3 separate regions of the Homo sapiens genome follow, and regions 2 and 3 are each linked to region 1. The links are contacts of gene promoters, found by promoter capture Hi-C in blood cells and fetal thymus (Javierre and others, 2016). All regions are on one chromosome and are shown on one strand. Each heading gives the region's core, a stretch centred on a gene start or on the middle of the fragment in contact. The rest is flanking DNA. Distances are from core to core; before and after follow the strand shown.

Region 1 (2,642 bases), core at 93-2,592:
TATTCTAAGAATAGAAGGAAGTTTAGTATTCTAAATCTGCCAGTTTAAGAAATTAATAAAGGAAGGCCCAGAGCAGTGGCTCACGCCTGTATTCCTAGCACTTTAGGAGGCTGAGGCAGGTGGATCACTTAATGTCAGGAGTTCAAGGCCAGCCTGGCCAATGGCGGCCTATCTTCTTCTGATAATACAAAACTTAGCCAGATGTGGTGGCACGCACCTGTAGTCCCTGTTACTTGGGAAAGTGAGGCAGAAGAATCGCTTGAACCTGGGAGGTAGAGGTTGTAATGAGCTTAGATCAGGGCACTGCACTCCAGCCTGGGAGACAGAGTGAGATTCCATCTCAAAATAAAAACTAAAATAATAAAAAATAAAATAAAATAAAATAAAATAAATAAAATAAAAAAGAGATTAATAAAGAAAAAACATGATCATCTCCAAAGATACTGCGAAAGCATTTAACAAAATATAACACTCTTTAATCATAAACACTTAACAGACTACAATGAGAAGAGAACTTCATAAGGAGGAGCTACAGCGAGTATAACACTTAATGGTGCCGTTTTGGAAGGATTCCCATAGAGGCGGAAGGAAGACAAGTGTGGTGAGAAAGTACTCCTATTCAACACGGCATCACAGGGTTTGGCCAATACCATGAGATAGGAACAGGCAGTCAGAAGAGCAAGGATTCAATAGGAAAAGATGATTATCTTTGAAAATAACATAATTGTCAAGGTAAAAGTTCACAAGAATCTATAAACAATTAGATCAAATAAGAATTGGAATTAGTGGGCATAGGCCAGGCGTTGTGGCTCACGCCTGTAATCCCAGCACTTTGGGAGGCCGAGGCGGGCGGATCACGAGGTCAGGAGATCGAGACCATCCTGGCTAACACGGTGAAACCCCGTCTCTACTAAAAAATACAAAAAAACTTAGTCGGGCGTGGTGACTGTAGTCCCAGCTACTCGGGAAGCTGAGGCAGGAGAATGGCGTGAACCCGGGAGGCAGAGCTTGCAGTGAGCCGAGACTGCGCCACTGTACTCCAGCCTGGGGGACAGAGCGAGACTCCGTTTCAAAAAAAAAAAAAAAAAAATTAAAGTCATATGAAGATTAATATGTAACATCTTCTTCGACTTAAATGTTCATTTTTTTCCTTCTGACTTTAGAAGAAATTAAAATATTTTCATGAGCCTCCAAAAGAACTGCGGACCCTAGACACCGTGCCTGCTGTTTAATGGAGTACGGCACTGCGTGTACCGGAAGATGATTTTTTTAAAAAAAAACTCAATTAGGAAATAATTATTCGCACACATTCATATACATACATACATACACTGAATCCTCACACGAAGAGCCCTACAGGCGTGAGAACAGTAAGGGAGATGCAAGAAAGGTCTCCTTGGAGTTGGGAGGCGTATTTACAGCTACTAGAGAAGGGGGAAGTGCCAGCTCCCCGAGAAGAAAGCAGGAGGATGCTGAGAGACTAAAGCTGAAATTTTCTGCCTGCTTCCTCACTCTTTTCGTTGGTTTCAGCCGTCTGAAAAACCCTTGTGAGAGGAGCAAAAAGGTCAAGGGAAGATTGTTGCCTTGCTCTCAGTCTTCAAAATTTTCGATCCTCCGTTTTTTTTGTTTTGAGACGCAGTCTCGCTCTGTCGCCTAGGCTGGAGTGCAGCGGCGCGATCTCGGTCACTGCAACCTCCGCCTCCCTGGTTCTAGCGATTCTTCTGCCTCAGCCTCCTGAGTAGCTGGGACTACAGGCGCGTGCCACCACACCCGGCTAATTTTTTTGTACTTTTGATAGGGACGGGGTCTCACGGTGTTAGCCAGGATGGTCTCTATCTCCTGAACTCGTGATCCGCCCGCCTCGGCCTCCCAAAGTGCTGGGATTACAGGCGTGAGCCACCGCGCCCGGCCGGTCCTCTGTTTTTAAACTGTAAAGGACTCCAGCGGATTGTTCGAAGTCTCCGATATCCCGCGATCTGGTGGCCGCAGAAGAAAGAGGCCGAGTCGGCGGGGACTGGGAACCACCAGTTAGCGGCCTACGGGCAACCTCCCGGACGCGCGCGCCGGGCCGACGTTAAACGTACGTGACGCCCTATGCGGGAGCCGGATGGGCGTAACGGGGCGGCGGCGTAACGTGTGGCTCTGTGGTTAGGGCACGGAGGGGCGTGGCCGGACGGCCCTATGAGGGGGCCGGCGTTTTTGGCGAGGGTTGATGGGATGACCCTATGAGGGAGCCTGCGTGGAGGGGCACGACCGGCCCCAAGACTCCTTTTCATGGCCGCATAGCCGCACCGGGAGTAGGATGACCGCTGTTATTTTTCAGGACCTCTCATCTTCGGTTTGAAATTCTTTGCTTTTTTCCGGCTTTGTGTGGCTATTTAGTATTAGCATTTTAGGGCAGTTTCATTTCCTTTAAAGTAAAACTCTCCAAAGTGGTCTCCGGACCAGCAGCATCAGCATCACCTGCATAATTTAGAAGTACAAATTATCAGGTCCTACCTCAGATCTAATGCATCAGAAAAGTTTTGTGACTGCTTCAAAACATTGTTTCCCTTAATTCAGATGCTGGAGGAGACCTTTCAAATGGCAGCTTAGCATAAGCTAACCAGTTTTTAACTTCAGGTTCATTACCAAAGCCACAT
Region 2 (2,642 bases), core at 104-2,603, 950 kb before region 1:
TGGTCTTTACTAAAAATACAAAAATAAGCCAGTCGTGATGGTGCGTGCCTGTAGTCCCAGCTACTTGGGAGCCTGAGGCAGGAAAATCACTTGAACTCGCAAGGCAGAGGTTGCAATGAGCTGAAATCGTGCTACTGCACTCCAGCCTGGGCAACAGAGAGAGACTCTGTCTCAAAAAAAAAAAAAAAAAAAAAAGAAAGAAAACAAAATATTTTTTCCCCAACACTTTTCAAAGAATGGTTTAAAAGCAATGACAATCCATGATCAGTGAGAATTCCCACCCAGATTATGGTCTCAATTCCTTTTTCAAAGGGCAGTCAGGCTACTTGGAGACTTGGGTAAATCTATGGATTTTAATACATTCAAGAGGAACAGCAATCAAATGCCATATTTGGATCTGGTGGGATCTCATTCAGACAAAATATAAAAATATTTGAGACAATTCAGGATTTTCTTTCTTTAAGGGCTAGGTATTGGATAATGTTACACATCATTTTTTAAATTTTCTTAGGTGTAAAATCTTAGCGTTTTTTCTTTATATCCATATCTGTTAGGATATTTGTGAAAATATTCATGATTAAAATCACATATTTGGGATTTCATGTTTCAGATATTTTTTAGACTCCCTCATCTGTCAGTGTGGGTGCGGATAATGAAACAAAATGGGCAAGATGTTGGTAATTGTTGAAGCCTGTGCGACGAGACTTGGGAAGTGCAGGATTCTCTATATTTTTGTGTCTGCTTCAGGATGTCCATGACCACTCCCTTTCCCCTCCAAAAAAAAAGTTAAAAAAAAAAAAGCTGGCCAAATCAGTGAACATATTTCGTTTTTGGTCAACAAAGGGCTACCCTGAGAGGAATCTACATGCAGAGAAGTTCAGGAGACTGAACTAACGGAACGTCAGGAAGCGCTGCGGGCTGGAGAGCTGCTGTTGGAACAGGGAGGAGTTCTCCGGGCCGCACCCTGCCTCCGTCCCGCAGGCGAGTTGAGAAGCGCTATCGCCATCTTGTGGCGATAATGGATGGGATAATGTAGCTAAAACTTTGTTTAGTTTTATGAGTTGAGAAGGGCTGTCGCCATCTTATGGCAATAACGGATAGGCTAATGTAGCCAAAACTTTGTTTCGTTTTATGATTTCGATTAGGCATTTCATTGCTACGGTTTAATAATTGAATATACAAGAAATACTATAAACCATCACATCCCCAACAGCCCCCAGCCGCCCAGTTCCCCCATCTACTTGGCAAAGATTCTCTTTTTGACCAAACTCTAGGCGGCTTCTTCTGAGCCCTCTTCTGGACTAGGTGGCCACCTTGGTCTATAAAGACCTGAACAAACCCGAACATAGTTACTAATAGCCCCGGTCTTCTCAAGTGCCTGCCTGAGAAAACTCAATTGATGCCGCCAAAGGAATTTACTGTTTGTTTCAGTCAACGTCTGAAGATAGGGCCCTCGTCTCCCAGGCTCTGGTAGGAGTGGAGCCTGATTTTGATATGTGCCAGTTATGAAACCCAGATGGTTCCCCACTGTCAGTGGTTACTAAATAAAATCTGTTTTCGTCATTTAAAGTAAGGCCTGGTGTTTTATCTTTGATATACTACAATTAACCACTTTTATTCGTTTCCTGTGTACCTGTCTGGAATATCTTTATACAAACACAAATAAACAAATGTGTCCCCTTTCATTCACATTTGCCCCCTTTCATTCAAATGACTGATGGTCACATGTTCTTCACAGGTTCTGTCTCTTGCTTTTCTCATTAACTGTCTTTCTTATTGCAGGTGGAGTGGCTGAAACTTCTCAGCAGGCGCATCTACACTAGTGACCTGAGGAGAGAAACCCTAACCCCACAATGGCTGCATCTTCTCTGAAGACGAGACTGATGCTCATCTTTGAAATGAAGGGCAGTGTGTGCATTTCTCCATGAAGGTATCCAGAAACAGCCATGCCAGAGCTGCTGTGGGGTGGCTGAACTGCTATTCCTTTTCTAGGGTGGGATCCCCACTCTTTGTAAGGAAGGATATTGGGGTCCTGACACTGGGAACTCATCTTGTCAGTGAGGCCTTCTTTAACTGCTGTCTTGTAATTGAGCCACCCCATCTGTGTTTCCTGTTCCAATTTAGGACTTTTTTTTTTTTATCATAATATAAAGATCTGAAATGCTATGTTTTCCTTATTCATTGGCTTATTATCTTTACTATCCCATCCTCCACACTAAAAGTTTTTTCGAGCTGGATTTGGGAGTTGTGGGGTAGGTTATATTTTGATCACTTGTATTTCCCAGCTTCTAGAACAGTGCCCAGCAAAGTACTTCTCTGAATAAATGAATAAAGTAATATTCCTCTGCTCTGCTGTTGCCAACTGGAATATCCTGAGGGAAATTTCTTTACTTTCCTCAGGGGATGATCCAGAAGATGAAAAACAAATTGTCATTCCATATAGTCCTCTTCTGAGTGTTTTTCAGTTTTGTTAAAACTCAGATTTTTTCTTTTTACCTGAATGTTTTTTTGTTAATGATTATTAGCATATACAGTATTTTCTTTTATGTACCAAAAAAAGGCAATTGATACAGTGCATGACTTGAAAATATACCTGCCTTCTCTGAGGCTCAAATTCAGGACTGTATTATTTGGAAAGCCTT
Region 3 (2,642 bases), core at 99-2,598, 910 kb before region 1:
AATTTGTCAAAAATGAATGTCCTGCATACACTTCACCACCCTGATGTCCTTATCAAATATTTTTATGTTTGTTTCTTCTTATCTTTTTCTAGGGTTTCACAGTTTTCTGGCCCTCTCTTCATCTTCCCAAGGTTCCAAAGCTCTGATTCAGATTAGAGATTAGCTTCTGTAATACTAATAAGACACTTCCATTTTTTTGACTGAATAATAAGAAAAATATCAGAGGAAGGAAGGGTGACTGGTCTTCCAAGTTGTTTTTGGAATCATGATTGAAAACTATTTGAAAAAACATGCTTCACATTCAGATAGATGTGTAGTGCTCCATCCAGTTCTAATACCTAATAGCTTAGGCAGGTAAGGAAGTGCACCCATTTCAGCTCCAGTTTTCTCAACTGAAAATGAGATTAGTGCTCCCTGCTACATAATGCCAGGGTAAATTTACAGGGTTACATCAGGTTATACTTACTTATAGCCTGGCCAAAAATAAAAGTGGAAAATTTCTGAAGAGCAAGTATGATTTTTAATCATAATGATTGTTAATAGATGCTTCCATTAAACTGGCATATGGTTAATGAAGTTGACTTCTGTATATGATACAATATTATATATTGGATTAGGAGACTTTAAGGATGGATGCAGAAAGAAAACCTTCAAGATATACACACACACTCTCTCTATCTCTTTCTTAATGAATTAACTACTTAATAGGTAAAGACAAAGTTGGCCCACTTGCAAATCACAGAAATGCACCAAAAACGATATGAAGAAATTTGATGAAAGCTAATAATGCTGATAGAGTTATAATGCAGGTGAAAATGTAAGCCTAAAAATGAGTTTTTTCTAGAAACCTGAAAAGCTTTTTTATCTTTGTGATTTTTGGATGAAACCAAAGAGGGAACCTTATAGGAAGAACCACCCCGGACCTCTCTTACAGTACAAGATCCTGAACACTGGGACAAAGATGCTCAAGCATTTCTAGGGTCATCTTCTGGAAATGGTCCCCTTCATGTTTATGACCCCAGGTAAAGATTAGATGCAGAGTCAAGGTCCTCTGGCTCACATAAACTCCCTTGCTTAGTCAAAGAACAAAGCAAGATGCATACTTCTGAGGGAAATATTATATGGCATATGTGAATAAATAAAAGAATTGTCAGGTCTACTCACCTTGGTAGCTATGGTGTAGTAAAGCTCTGGGTTAGTCCTTCTGGCAAGGTAAGGCTCCCCAAGCCATGTTTGTGCCTTCTGGATTTGTAGAGTTCTTGGTTAACAAACTATTACCAGGACTCAAATTTTCAAAGTTGTTTTTCTGTCAGGAAGACGGAAACCCTCTGCAGGATCCTAGTCCCTGAAGTACATTTTCCCCTCTGTCTCCACAATTACGTTTGTTTGCCTCAGGAGTTATTTCAGTCTTAATTGGGGTTTAACTATTGCAATAGAAAGATGTACAGTGAAAAAGTAAACAGCTAGCCAAGTTTCTGTATCCAGGGTTTCCCATTTTTCTGGCCCTCTCTTCATCTTCCCAAGGTTCTAATGTTTTGAATAAAAATGAGAACCAGGTCAGAAGACACATAATAAGTCACTTCTTTTCTTTCTCAAGGCTTTCTTTATACGCAGGGTTATGATAGATGATGACCAGCCCTGGAGACTCTGCTTTCTGAGCTTATCCCAACCACAGGCCTGGACAGGACGAGCGTCACCTTGCTCTACCGATGAACGTTGGCAGTTTGCAGTCTTTGCCATCAGTGATTGTTTTATTCTTTGTCTGTGAAACAACAAATGGGACTGGAAAAGCAAAAGAACCCTCCATTTTTATGAGCTAATCCTGCCTTATAAAGCTTCATAATACTTCTTTAATTCATTATACCCAAGAATGATCCTTCTATAGGTTATTCATTCTGCCCTCAAAAAATGACCTTTCCAGACACTAATGCAAAGGACTATACATAAATGGTGACACAGGGTTGAGATTAGAGGTGAGAATGGAATTATTTTTCTCACTGAGCTGGGCTGTGAGGCAGGCTTCTGGTCACTGGTCTTCATTCAATGTGACAGTATCCTCATCTAGAGGTGCACCTGGTTCATATCAGATGCCAAATTACTTGTGCAATAAGTGAGCAAATAGCCCTTTGAGATAAGTACTCTTTTCATCCCTGATTTTGAATGAGGATATTCAGGCACAGAGAGATTGAGTAAATTGCCCAGTGATACACAGATAATGAATAGCAAAATCAGGATTTGAACCCAGATAATCTAATTCAGGTCATGTGTTCTATTGCCCATTGTTTTGCATGTGTCTTTCTGGGTCAGCCTCTCTTGCGATCTGTTTCACTGTCTAGGAGAGGTGGCTAACCCAGTCTCAGTATCAATCCCATCTTGCACAGACTCTGTCTCCATCTTTTTCTCTGCATCCTGGTTGTGTGTCCTTCAGCCTCTCCTTCTATTTGGAGTAATTGCCACATGGTGGCAGTGTTGTAGGACTTTCTCCTTAGTTCAGCTAAAAACCGGGTTCTTGTCACATAACCAGGAAAGATTAGGCTTGAGGATGCATAGAAGGGTGAGAAAAATGGAATTTATTGCGCGAAAAAGGAAAAAGAAATACTTTCAGCAGAGTGAGAGGGAGGCCTGTTAACCTGCTCCTGCCC

What was found. The method cuts DNA at HindIII sites, captures the fragments that hold promoters and counts their contacts. A CHiCAGO score of 5 or more calls a contact.
Region 2: a contact is called between a fragment that was not itself captured here and the fragment with the promoter of H2BC6-AS1 in region 1, in 4 of 17 cell types (non-activated CD4 T cells, fetal thymus, naive CD8 T cells and 1 more). The highest score is 6.0, in non-activated CD4 T cells.
Region 3: a fragment that was not itself captured here is called in contact with the fragment with the promoter of H2BC6-AS1 in region 1 in 2 of 17 cell types (total B cells and naive B cells); the score reaches 5.6 in total B cells.

What each region holds. Positions count from the first base shown.
Region 1 is chr6:26,171,473-26,174,114 of GRCh38, reverse strand. H2BC6-AS1 (H2BC6 antisense RNA 1) reads left to right here and starts at 1,342. Exons shown (of 3, transcript NR_186648.1): 1 at 1,342-2,080. RefSeq lists an enhancer at 1,376-2,268. The HindIII fragment of the contact is 22,011 bases long and covers 1-2,642 here.
Region 2 is chr6:27,125,603-27,128,244 of GRCh38, reverse strand. No RefSeq gene overlaps it. Among named protein-coding and RNA genes, the nearest start is that of H2BC11, 5.9 kb to the left of the region's middle. RefSeq lists enhancers at 869-938, 1,149-1,198. The HindIII fragment of the contact is 5,241 bases long and covers 1-2,642 here.
Region 3 is chr6:27,078,892-27,081,533 of GRCh38, reverse strand. No RefSeq gene overlaps it. Among named protein-coding and RNA genes, the nearest start is that of TRP-CGG2-1, 12 kb to the left of the region's middle. The HindIII fragment of the contact is 979 bases long and covers 859-1,837 here.